Linked DNA regions of Homo sapiens: regions 1 and 2 are each linked to region 3. The links are contacts of gene promoters, found by promoter capture Hi-C in blood cells and fetal thymus (Javierre and others, 2016). All regions are on one chromosome and are shown on one strand. The core of a region is centred on a gene start or on the middle of the fragment in contact, and the rest is flanking DNA. Distances in the headings are between cores, read along the strand shown. Region 1 has its middle 33 kb from the start of PLAC8. Region 2 overlaps PLAC8 (placenta associated 8). Region 3 holds the start of HPSE (heparanase).

The links. Contacts are between HindIII fragments. The CHiCAGO score rates a contact against its expected background, and 5 or more counts as called.
Region 1: a contact is called between a fragment that was not itself captured here and the fragment with the promoter of HPSE in region 3, in 1 of 17 cell types (total CD8 T cells). The highest score is 5.3, in total CD8 T cells.
Region 2: a fragment that was not itself captured here is called in contact with the fragment with the promoter of HPSE in region 3 in 2 of 17 cell types (neutrophils and monocytes); the score reaches 5.7 in neutrophils.

What each region holds. Positions count from the first base shown.
Region 1 is chr4:83,079,523-83,083,707 of GRCh38, reverse strand. No RefSeq gene overlaps it. Among named protein-coding and RNA genes, the nearest start is that of PLAC8, 33 kb to the left of the region's middle. The HindIII fragment of the contact is 236 bases long and covers 2,281-2,516 here.
Region 2 is chr4:83,103,018-83,107,376 of GRCh38, reverse strand. PLAC8 (placenta associated 8) reads left to right here. Exons shown (of 5, transcript NM_016619.3): 3 at 2,357-2,481. Among named protein-coding and RNA genes, the nearest start is that of PLAC8, 9.5 kb to the left of the region's middle. The HindIII fragment of the contact is 2,237 bases long and covers 1,636-3,872 here.
Region 3 is chr4:83,331,571-83,336,290 of GRCh38, reverse strand. It overlaps HPSE (heparanase), which reads left to right and starts at 1,443. Exons shown (of 12, transcript NM_001098540.3): 1 at 1,443-1,735. The coding sequence starts at 1,509. The HindIII fragment of the contact is 2,644 bases long and covers 363-3,006 here.

The DNA.
Region 1 (4,185 bases), core at 1,149-3,648, 250 kb after region 3:
CACCTGCTAACTGAAGGTTGGCAGGACCCTGAATAACCAGCAGTTACATTTAGGTACTATGTCAAGGCCCTTGGTTGAGCCTCTGAGACTTGCTGGCTTCAGGTGAGACTCAGCACATTACTAGCTGTGGTGGCAACAAGGCAAAACTCCTTCTGTTTGAGAAAAGCAGAAGGAAAAGTAAAGAGGGCTTTGTCTTGCACCTTAGGTACCAGCACAGCCACAGTGGGGTAAAGCACCAAGTGGGCTCTTGAGGTCTCCGATTCCAGGACTTGACTGTTGGACACCATTTCTGCACCTGCCCCAGGCCAGAGGGGAACCCATTGCCCTGAAGGGCGAGTCCCAAGGCAGGAAGCATTCAACACAAGCTTGACTTAAGATACCTCGATGCTTAAGGGAATATTGGAGGTAGCCTGGCAGTACTCCTCGTGGCCTGGGTTGACAGTGGCTATGGGGTGAGGCTCCTCTGCATTTGGGAAGGGAAAGGAAGAGTGGGAAGGACTGCATCTGGTGGTCTGAATACCAGCTCAGCCACAGTACAATAGAACACCAGCTAGACTTCCAAGTTTTTTTACTCTAGTCCCTGATTCCCAAAAGGCACCTCTGGACTCACCTGGGGCCTGGGGGACCTCACGGCTCTGAAGGGAAGGACACAGGCCTGGCCGGCTTTGCCACCAGCTAATTGTAGAGCCCCAGGGCCTTCAGCAAACATAGGCAGTAGCCAGGAAGTGGTTACAGCCAGCCTTGGCAAGCCCCACTGCTGTGCTGGCTTCAGGTCTGACCCAATGCAGTCATAGTGGTGGTGGCCACAGGGATGCTTGTGTCACTCCACCGCCGGCTTTATGTGGCTCAGAACAAGGAGAGTGAGACTCTTTTTGCTTGGAAGAAAGTAACAGAATGGAACAGGAGTCTCTCTGCCTGATAATGCAGAGAATTCTTCTGGATCTTTTCCAAGACCATCAAGGTAGTACCTCCATGAGTCTGCAAGAAAACAGTGTTACTGGGATTGGGGTGCTCTCTAAATCAGATACAGCTTACATCACAATATCCAAGTACTTTCAAATATCTGGAAAGCCTTTCTAAGAGGGATGGGTACAAATAAGCCTAGACAGTGAAGACTACAATAAATACTTCACTCTTCAATGCCCAGACACTGAAGAACATTTACTAACATCAACACCATCCAGGAAAACATGACCTCCCAAATGAACTAAATGAGCCACCAGGGACCAATCCTGGAGAAACAGAGATGTGTGACCTTTCAGGCAGAGAATTCAAAATAGCTGTGTTGAGGAAACTCAAGAAATTCAAGATAACACAGAGAAGGAATTCAAAATTATATCAGATACATTTAACAAAAAGATTAAAATAAAAAGAATCAAACTGAGATTCCAGAGCTAAAAATGCAATTGGCATACTGAACAATGCATTAGAGGCTTTCAGTAGCAGAATTGATCAAGCAGAAGAAAGAATTAGTGAGCCTGAAGACAGGCTATTTGAAAATACACAGTCAGGGCCAGTCATGGTGGCTCATGCCTGTAATCACAGCATTTCAGGAGGTCGAGGCAGAAGGATCACTTGAGCCCAGGAGTTTGAGTCTAGCCTAGACAATGTAGTGAGACCCCCCCCCTCCTTAAAAAAATAAAAAAGGCCAGGCGCAGTGGCTCATGCCTATAATCCCAGCACTTTGGGGAGGCCAAGGCAGGTGGATCACCTGAGGTTGGGAGTTCGAGACCAGCTTGACCAAGATGGAGAAACCCTATCTCTACTAAAAATACAAAATTAGCCGGGTATGGTGGCACATGTCTGTAATCCCAGCTACTTGGGAGGCTGAGGCAGGAGAATAGCTTGAACCTGGGAGGCGGAGGTTGCAGTGAGCCAAGATCATACCACTGCACTCCACCCTGGGCAACAGAGCCAGGCTCCATCTCAAAACAAAACAAAACAAAAAAAAGAGCTAAAGAGAGAGTTAGGCCCCAATACAATAATAGCTGGAGACTTCGACACCCCACTTTCAGCACTGGATGGATCTTCCAGGCAGAAAAATCAATAAAGAAACATCAGACTTAATCTGCACAATAGACCAAATGGATCCAGTAGATAATTACGGAACATTTCATCCAATGGCTGTGGAATACACATGCTTTTCCTCAGCATATGGATCATTCTCAAGGATGGATCATTTTAATAAGAAATTTAAAAATTTCTTGGAACAAATGCTAATGGGAGCACAACATACCAAAATCTATGGGATACAGCAAAAGCAGTACTAAGAGGGAAGCTTATCGTTATAGTGCCTACATCAAAAAAGAGGGAAACTTATAGTGCCTACATTAAATAAACAATCTAATGATGCATCTTAAAGAATTAGGAAAACAAGAGCAAACCAAATCCAAAATTAGTAGAAGAAATAATAAAGATCAGAACAGAAATAAATGAAATTAAAATGAAGTAAACAATACAAAAATCAATGAAACAAAAAGTTGGTTTTTTGAAAAGTTAAGCAAAATTGACAAGCTTTTAGCCAGACTAAGAAAAAAAGAGAGATCTAAATTTACCTTCAGTATTGAAAATAATGCGAAGATGAAATACATAGCATATCGAGTTGGCATTATGTGTAAAGGGGCAGAAGCCATACATGATTAAATAATTTGGCATAAGAGATTTCTTGTATTTTTGGCCTGTGTTTTCACTTCTATGATCTTCAAAACACTCACAGTACTTGTATTTGGGGAGTGGTTGTGGTCTACAAATTTCGTAAGTACCTGCTGTCCATCTGAAAGTCTGGTTATTTCTCAGCCATTGCAATTAGGTGATTTTCTACGTTTGCAGCACGAATAACAATTAACTTTTAAACTGTTTCACTGTTAAGTAGCCTCATACACTTAACACAGCCTTTTTGCAAGGGAACAATTTCACAGATCTCTTCCATTGTGTGGTAAGCAATACAGTAAGAAGAAATGATGTTCAGCTTCCCCAATACCAAATCTGTATTAGTCAGGGTTCTCTAGAGAGACAGAACCAATAGGATATGAGAGGAAATTTATTAGGGAACTTGGCTCATGCAATTATGGTGGCTGAAAAGACCCACGGTGAGGCCATCCGAAAGCTGGAGACCTTGGGATACCGGTAGCATGGTTCAGTCCAACTCCAAAGGCCTCAGAACCAGGAAAGCTGATGGTGCAACTATCCATCTGAGGCCAAAAGCCTCAGGATCCAGGGGGCCACTGGTGTAAGTTCCGGAGTCCGAAGGCTGGCAAACCTGGAGTTCTGGGTCCAAGACAGGAGAAGAAAAGTCTGTCCCAGATCTCAGAGAGAGACCAATTTGCCTTCTATATTTGTTCTGTTTGGGACCCTGGTCAAGTAGTTGGTGCCTCCCAACAATGAGGGCAGATCATCCCCCACTTAGTCCACTCAGACTCACATTCTAATCTCTGAAAACACTCTCACAGCCACATCCAAAATAATGCTTTACCAGGTTTCTAGGTATTCCTTAATCCATTCAAGTTGACACCTAAAATTATGTCCACTGTCCACCCCTTGTCAATTTGGCACTCATTTGCATCCCCTTAAATCACACTTAATTTCCAAATAAAGACAAAAAGGCTATGGTTCTGCTTGACATGACACAACTAACATGATGCAACCATCCTGTGTACAACCAAAAAATACACTAATCCCCTTCCCCAGAATTTGGCTTTCAGGGTTTCAACATTGAGGATTTTAATCTTTTGGGATTGTAATTTTCAGGATTTTAGACATGAGGGATTTAGACTTTAGAAATTTTGAACTTTAAGGATTTTGATCTTTTGGGACATCAACATTTGGGGTTTGGCATTCAGGATTGTGTCTTTCAGGATTATGATTATGAGGCAGAATTGCTTGAACCCGGGAGGCAGAGGTTGCAGTGAGCCAAGATCACACCACTGCACTCCAGCCTGGGTGACAAGAGCAAAACTCTGTCTCAAAAAGAAAAAAATTCCATTGTTGTCTGAGAACATACAGTGTATAATTTCTATTCTTTTACATTTTGAGGTGTGTTTTATGGCCCAGGTTGGTCTACCTCAGTGAACGCTCCAAGTGAGCTGACAAGAGTGAGTACTCTGTTGTTGCAGGACGAAGCAGTCTATGGATGTCAATTATATTCAGTTGATTGGTGGTGCTGTTGAGTACAACAATGTCCTTACT
Region 2 (4,359 bases), core at 1,505-4,004, 230 kb after region 3:
CAAGGGTTAGATTCATGGTTTCCATATGCGTTCAGAGAAAACTATTTTAATGTATATATTTAGGTTTTTTACACACCTGAGAATAAAGAATTCTGGAGGCAATTAGCTTGTCACTGGGGAAAAAAAATCTCTGACTGCTTTGTTTTTTTTTTTGTTTTTTTTTTTTGTTTGTTTTTGAGACGAAGTCTCACTCTTGTCCCCCTGGCTGGAGTGCAATGGCACGATCTCCACTCACTGCAACCTCCGCCTCCCAGGTTCAAGAGATTCTCCTGCCTCAGCCTCCTGAGTAGCTGGGATTACAGGCACCCGTCACCACACCTGGCTAATTTTTGTATTTTTAGTAGAGACAAGGTTTCACCATGTTGGCCAGGCTGGTCTCAAACTCCTGACCTCAGGTGATCCGCCTGCCTGAGCCTCCCAAAGTACTGGGATTACAAGCGTGAGCCACCGCACCCAGGCTGTTTTCTTTTTATAAGATCTCCTTAAAAGATCTCTTACTTAGAGATGTCTCTAAATGAACTTGGAGGAAAGAAGTTTGGGGTGTGATGGGCGTTGCAGCGAGGAGCAAGGTGCTTAGTTCTCAATAATGACCAAGAAATAAACAAACCCACCTGCAGAAAACTTGCTCTGAAGTCTATTTGCTTGTCTTGGTCCACATAGTACTCTAAGGCAAGAAAATAAAATACATTATCCTTTAAAGTTGAAAATGACTTTGAATGAGAGTTGAATTGAACCTTGTTTTTGTTTTTTGTTTTTTTTGAGACACAGTCTCACTTTGTCACCCAGGCTAGAATGTAGTGGTGCAATCTCAGCTCACTGCAATTGTCTGTCTCCCTGGTTCAAGTGATTCTCCTACCTTGGCCTCCGAGTAGCTGGGGTTACAGGCACGCACAACCACACCCAGCCAATTTTTGTATTTTTAGTAGAGATGGGGTTTCATCGTGTTGGGCAGGCCGGTCTCAAACTCCTGACATCAAGTGATCTGCCCACCTCGGCCTTCCAAAGTGCTAGGATTACAGGCATAAGCCACCATACCTGGCCTGAAATTGAACTTTGAATGTGATAAGAATTACAATCAGGCTGGGCGTGGTGGCTCACACCTGTAATCCCAGCACTTTGGGAGGCCAAGGCGGGCAGATCACAAGGTCAGGAGTTCAAGACCAGCCTGGCCAAGATGGTGAAACCCCATCTCTACTAAAAAATACAAAAATTAACCGGGCATGGTGGTGGGTGCCTGTAGTCCCAGCTACTTGGGAGGCTGAGGCAGAAGAATTGCTTGAACCTGAGAGGTAGAGGTTGCAGTGAGCTAAGATCGCACCATTGCACTCGAGGCTGCATCTCAAAAATAAATAAATAAATAAGTAAATAAAATAAAATAAAAATAAAAAAAGAATTACACACTCAGTAGCATAGCAAGGGAAAATTACCTAGGGAATGAAACAATTGTGTTGGTTTTTTCACTCTCATTGTCTGGGGTGACGACTTAAGCTTCTCAGGGCACCAGTTCAACATCTGCAAATCAAAGTGAGAATTAGACTGCATTGGTGAAACTCTCTAAAGATGAACATTTTAACCCTCTCACCCCTAGTATTATTATTACCCAATTAAATGAATACACAAGTTCCAATCAAAGCTTAATTGCTTAATAGCAAATTTTCTTAAATGTAGATCTGATCAAATTATTCTCCCCTCTTAAAATGTTTCAGTGGTTCCTCATAACTCTCATGGCACACTCTTAACACTTACAGTTTTTCATCATCTGGTCCCCAACCTGCCTCAACCCCCAGTTAAATCCTCATCCCATCCCAGGGCTCCAGCCATATTGAATGAACACTAGCCTTTGCCAGGATATGCCAGATTACCTCGAAGAGGCTCTTTTCCTTTTTGTCCACCTTTAAAACATCTAATCATCCTTCAATATTTCCTGAGCATTTCCTACTCAGGGCCTTGTAGGCCCCATTTTTCTGGGTGACCTGTTGGTATTTCAAACACGTTTCTGTTGGAGAACTTTCCCTATGATCTGCCTTCACTACTAGACTTGAGCCAGGGGCACTGTCAGTACTGAGGATAATGTCTGGAAAATGAATAAGTTTTACTGCATCAATGAACAAATGAATGAAGGCAGAACTATGACAAGAATGATATACTTTGCAAAGGCGTGGTCATTCCTGAAATGATTTGCGGGTGGAGCGAGAAATTGATGCAAAGCTGAATAGAAACATTGAAGATGGACTTAGCAGCAGGCTTTGCGGCCAAGGCCCCATGACTCGGACTGCCATTTGTGAAAGCAAGCTAAACTTTCAGCTGTGGCAGGGGCAGAGTGGAGTAATATGTACCCCTGGTTTCATGTGTCTAGGTCTCTGTGGCACATTTTGTTTCCCGTGCCTTGGGTGTCAAGTTGCAGCTGATATGAATGAATGCTGTCTGTGTGGAACAAGCGTCGCAATGAGGACTCTCTACAGGACCCGATATGGCATCCCTGTGAGTCTCTTACCATACCATCTCACTCAAATATGCACCCCATTCAAAATAATTATTATAAACATGGAGATCATTTGATGTATACATCTTCTGAAATTGATTGATAAGAGTTCCCTAGCATGTGCAATCTTGCATTCAGTTGTAGCAACAGATCTTCTGGTTATGTGGCCTCCTTCTAGGTTTCTGCTGAAAACCTGAGAAAATTGATAACTCATATTTGCAATGGATGTCATACCATGGAAGAGGCTTATTTAGGATCTACTGTGGCGTGGATGCATTACATGTATTATCTCACTTAATCCTCACATCATCTCTGTAAAGTGGGTAGGTCCACAACATTTTGCCAAAGAGAACTTTAAAGTTTTAAGAGGTGGAGTAATTCCCTCAAAGATAATAGTAGAGAAAGAGTCGATACTCAATTCTAACTGTCCATTCATACACTTTCCATTACACCAACTCCACTTTGTGTAGGTGAGAGATTATATTACTTAGAGTCCTCCTAAGTGCATTAGAAACAGAACCAATAAGATTGGGAGTGGATGTGTGTATACACACATATATATATATACAGGCAAACCTCAGATATACAGGTTTAGTTCTAGACCACCACAATAAAGCAAATATTGCAATAAAGCAAGTCACATGAATTTTTTGGTTTCCCAGTGCACATAAAAGGTATGCTTATACTACACTATAGTCTGTTAAGTATGCAATAACATTATGTCTCAAAAAACAACATATGTACCTTAATTTTAAAATACTTTATGGCTAAAAAATACTAATAATAATCTATCTGAATCTTCAGCAATTCATAATGTTTTTGCCTGTGGAGGGTCTTGCCTCAGTGTTGGTGGCTGCTGATTGATCAGGGTGCTGGATACTGAAGGTTGGGGTGACTGTGGCAATTTCTTCAAGTAAGGCAACAATGGTCTGGGCGTGGTGGCTCACACCTATAATCCCAGCACTTCGGGAGGCCCAGGAGGGCTGATCACTTGAGGTCAGGAGTTAAAGACCAGCCTGGCCAACATGGTGAAACCCCTGTCTACTAAAAATATAGAAATTAGCCAGGCGTGGTGGCAGGTGCCTGTAATCCCAGCTACTTGGGAGGCTGAGGCAGGAGAATTGCTTGAACCCAGGAGGGAGGCTGCAGTGAGCCCAGATTGCGCCTCAGCACTCCAGCCTGGACAACAGAGCAAGACTCCATCTCAAACAAAACAAAACAAAAACAAAAAACAAATAAGGCAACAATGAAGTCTGCCTCATTGATTGACCATTCCTTTCATGAAAGGAAAGATTTCTATGCTATTTGGTAGCATTTTACCTACAATAGAACTTCTTTCAAAATTGGATTCAGTCCTCTCAAACCCTGTTACGGCTTTATCAACTAAGCTTATGGAATATTCTCAATCCTTTGTTGTTATTTCAACCATGGTCACAGCATCTTCACCAGGAGTTGATTCCATCTCAAGAAACCACTTTCTTTCTTTCTTTCTTTCTTTGTTGAGATGGAGTCTCACTCTGTTGCCAGGCTGGAGTGCAGTGGTGAGATCTCGGCTCACTGCAACCTCCGCCTCCCAGGTTCAAGCGATTCTCCTGCCTCATCCTCCCGAGTAGCTGAGATTACAGGTACCCGCCACCGTGCCCAGCTAATTTTTGTATTTTTAGTAGAGACAGGGTTTCACCATGTTGGCCAGGATGGTCTTGATCTCTTGACCTTGTGATCCGCCCGCCTCGGCCTCCCACAGTGCTGGGATTACAGGCAGAAGCCACCGCGCCCAGCCTCAAGAAATAGCTTTCTTTTTTTTTTTTTTAAAGGGAGTCTTGCTCTGTCACCCAGGCTGGAGTGCAGTGGCGCCATCTCGGCTCACTGCAAGCTCC
Region 3 (4,720 bases), core at 194-2,693:
GCATTTCAAAATAATCTATTTTTATTTGTTGCCTTATTGGTGGTACAATCTCAAGTGGAAAAATCTAAGGGTTTTGGTGTTATTTGCTTACTCAACCAATATTTATTAGACTCTTACTAAGCACCAACATGATCACATGCCTGAGCTATGGCTAGCATAGCGTGTGAGACAAACTTAATCTCTGTTTTGGTGGAGCATATAATCTAGTAGATGAAGCCAATGTTGAGCAACATCACAATACTAACAAATTGAGGATGCTACGAGAGTGTCTAACAAATTGAGGATGCTACGAGAGTGTCTAACAAATTGAGGATGCTATGAGAGTGTGTCATGGAGAGCTGCCTGGAGATTGAGAGAAAGCTTCCTTGAGGGAAGTTACATTTCAGCTGAAACACACTGCCATCTGCTCGAGGTTTTGTAACTGCATTCACATCCCGATTCTGACACTTCACATCCCGATTCTGACACTTCACCCAGTTACTGTCTCAGAGCTTGGGTCCGCATGTGTAAAACAAGGACAGTATGCACTTGGCAGGGTTGTGAGAAGGGAAGAGAACACAAGTAAAGCACCTGTATCAGGCATACAGTAGGCACTAAGCGTGCGATGCTTGCTATGATTATACATCAGTGTAAGCATCAAGGAAAAGCTGAAGAAAAGTCTGACCAACAGCGAAAGATAAATGCGCAGAGGAGAAATTTGGCAAAGGCTCCAAATTCAGGGGCAGTCCGTACTCTACACTTTGTATGGGGGCTTCAGGTCCTGAGTTCCAGACATTGGAGCAACTAACCCTTTAAGATTGCTAAATATTGTCTTAATGAGAAGTTGATAAAGAATTTTGGGTGGTTGATCTCTTTCCAGCTGCAGTTTAGCGTATGCTGAGGCCAGATTTTTTCAAGCAAAAGTAAAATACCTGAGAAACTGCCTGGCCAGAGGACAATCAGATTTTGGCTGGCTCAAGTGACAAGCAAGTGTTTATAAGCTAGATGGGAGAGGAAGGGATGAATACTCCATTGGAGGTTTTACTCGAGGGTCAGAGGGATACCCGGCGCCATCAGAATGGGATCTGGGAGTCGGAAACGCTGGGTTCCCACGAGAGCGCGCAGAACACGTGCGTCAGGAAGCCTGGTCCGGGATGCCCAGCGCTGCTCCCCGGGCGCTCCTCCCCGGGCGCTCCTCCCCAGGCCTCCCGGGCGCTTGGATCCCGGCCATCTCCGCACCCTTCAAGTGGGTGTGGGTGATTTCGTAAGTGAACGTGACCGCCACCGAGGGGAAAGCGAGCAAGGAAGTAGGAGAGAGCCGGGCAGGCGGGGCGGGGTTGGATTGGGAGCAGTGGGAGGGATGCAGAAGAGGAGTGGGAGGGATGGAGGGCGCAGTGGGAGGGGTGAGGAGGCGTAACGGGGCGGAGGAAAGGAGAAAAGGGCGCTGGGGCTCGGCGGGAGGAAGTGCTAGAGCTCTCGACTCTCCGCTGCGCGGCAGCTGGCGGGGGGAGCAGCCAGGTGAGCCCAAGATGCTGCTGCGCTCGAAGCCTGCGCTGCCGCCGCCGCTGATGCTGCTGCTCCTGGGGCCGCTGGGTCCCCTCTCCCCTGGCGCCCTGCCCCGACCTGCGCAAGCACAGGACGTCGTGGACCTGGACTTCTTCACCCAGGAGCCGCTGCACCTGGTGAGCCCCTCGTTCCTGTCCGTCACCATTGACGCCAACCTGGCCACGGACCCGCGGTTCCTCATCCTCCTGGGGTAAGCGCCAGCCTCCTGGTCCTGTCCCCTTTCCTGTCCTCCTGACACCTATGTCTGCCCCGCCAGCCGCTCTCCTTCTTTTGCGCGGAAACAACTTCACACCGGAACCTCCCCGCCTGTCTCTCCCCACCCCACTTCCCGCCTCTCATTCTCCCTCTCCCTCCCTTACTCTCAGACCCCAAACTGCTTTTTGGGGGGTATCATTTAAAAAATAGATTTAGGGGTTACAAGTGCAGTTCTGTTCCATGGGTATATTGCATTGTGGTGGCATCTGGGCTCTTAGTGTAACTGTCACCCGAATGTTGTACATTGTATCTAATAGGTAATTTCTCATCCCTCATCCCTCTCCCACCCTCCCACCTTTTGGAGTCTCCAGTGTCTACTATTCCACTAAGTCCATGTGTACACATTGTTTAGCGCCCACTCTAAATGAGCCTTTTTGTTTCATTCATTCTGTAAGTGTTGAATAGGCACCACCTAAGGTCAGGTATAAGTGGAAATTTGAAAAAGAAACTGCCCACTTGCCCCAGTACTTCCCTAGCCAAGAGGAGGGAAACCAGGCAGGTGCACCTGAAGGCCTGTGAGTGCTTGATTTGCTGTGCAGTGTAGGACAAGTAAGATTGTGCATAGCCTTCTGTATTTAAGACTGTGTTAGGAAGATTTCTCTTTCTTTTCTTTTCTTTTTCTTTTTTCTTTTCTTTTTTTTTTTTTAGGCAGATGAAAAGGGCGTCACAGAACAGGAATAAAAATCTAAATATTCAATAAATGAGACCTAGGAGACTACTGCAGTGACTTACAAAGTCCTAATAAAAAGATGTCTCTCCAAAATGGGGCTGCAAAATGTGGTGCTGCCTTATCAGCTCTAAGTTTTTTCCTTACCTGAGAAAGAAGGAACCTGATGCAGGTTCAGGGCTCCTGCCCCATGAATGCAGGCTGACTCCAAGATGGGGAGCTACAGGGACAATCCCAGGTCTTCTAGGCCTCTTATTTAGGCCCTGGGAGCCTCCAGAGATGGCCACATCTTGACCAGCCCAGATAGAGGGAAAGATCACCATTATCTCACCTCTGTGTCAAATACCTAGATGCTGTCCTCCCTGAGCCCACACTATAGTTGCCAGCGCTAATTTAATGGGTAGTGTACTGGTTAAGAGATGGACAGACCATCCTGGCTTGACTCTCAGCTCTGGCAAAGATGAGTGACTTGGTTTTTCCATATCTCTTGGCCACACCAACCTTGATTTCTTCAGCTGTAGAATGGAATTTCTCAAGCTTGCCTCAAGGATTATTGCCCGAGGATTTGATGATATGGTAAGAGCTTCTCAGTGTTTGACCCATAGTAAGTGTTTGACGTTTCAAACGAATTGTTTCTTTCTAGGACATGGTGAGCATTTGGTAGCCATTCACCGGTTTTCTGTTTCTTTGGATCATAGTTAACCTCTCCTTTTCCTTCTGGCACTACAATTTTCTGGTGGGGAAGAATCCTTACTTTCTGCCCTTCCCCTTAAGGATAGGAAGCTGATACTAGGCAGCAACTAGTTGGGGGATAGGAAGATTGTTCCAGAGAAATGCTGAACCATAGGGCTCCAGATCACAGGACCCCAGTCTTAGCTTGCTGGGGTGTGGGGTGGGGGGGGGCGGTTACTGAACATGGGTATGAAGTAGATGTCCATTTACTGAAATGTGAGGACCTGAGGCCTCTTCTATTGCTGTAGCCAGCATATTCCCCAACCTCTCCCCAAGAAAGGACAGATGGGGGTTCCCCCCTGGAGTAACAGGTCCAAAAGAAAAAACATACAGTGGGACTTCCAGGATCTGGGCCTGATCACCCAGCAGTCAAGCTCCCCGCAATTGACTAACACCCCCCTAACACGTAGAAATTCCAATCTGCAATTTAGTGAGGATGATACCTTTATTCTTCTTAAATACATCTCTTCATTTCCCAGAGCACCCTTTTTTCCCCTCCTCTGCACCTTTTTGTTAAAGACTGGAGTATAATGAAATACCAAGAGAGCATAACATGTGATACATAAAACTTTTTTTCTGGTTTACAAAACAGTTCATTCTTGTCCATACGTGCTTCTCTCCAAGGCTGGCTGCTGTCTGTTCCAGCCCGCTTCGCTTGGAGAGGCCATCTGCCATACCTGCTCCCCAGACGCATCGACAAGCACACCCAGAGTGTTATCTGCTAAGACCTAAAAGAGGGAGGAACCCCCTCTCCTCATCTAAGACCTAGCTTCTAAATTAGAGTGTGAGGGTCCATCTCCCCAGGAGGGGCACAGGGCCCAAACAGCCCAGCCATCTCAGAAGACAACACTAAGCTTTGTAGGGGTCCACAGTAGAGGAGAGTAAGACGCCTGTTGTTTAATTTATTACAGTTCCTCAAAAGTGAAGATGTGTGGGCGGGATGGCAAGAGCTGAGCAGACGAAAGCTGAAGGAATAAGGAAAGAGAGGAGGACACAAACAGCTGACACTTCCTCAGTTCTTGTCATTTGCCTGGCCCTGTTCTAAGCACCTTCTAGGTATTAATCCATTTAGTCTTGGCTACAACACTGTGAGTGACTAGTTTTGTCACCCCCATTTTAAAAATGAAGAAAGTGAGGCTCAGGGAGGTTAAGTAACTTGGCCACAGTTTGAAACTAGACTCTGATCACATGAGATAATAGTGCCCATAAAAAGGGAAAGCAGATTATATTTTTTAAAGGAAAGAGAGTAGGATATGGTAGAAAAAGATTGTTTGGAAAGGAATTGAGAGATTGATATAATGAAAAGAAGCATTCACATGAGAGTAACAGTATCAGGGCCCAAACCTTCATCTAAGGTACTTCAAAGAGGCCTAAGCAAACTTAGTCACTGGCGTGGTTCTAGTCTCCATGATGGCAAATACATTGTGTACAGCCCAACTCCACACAAAACTTAAATACCAATGATAGAGCAATCTAAAATTTGAAAGAAAAAATCTTTCAATTTGTCGTCTTCCCAGAGGG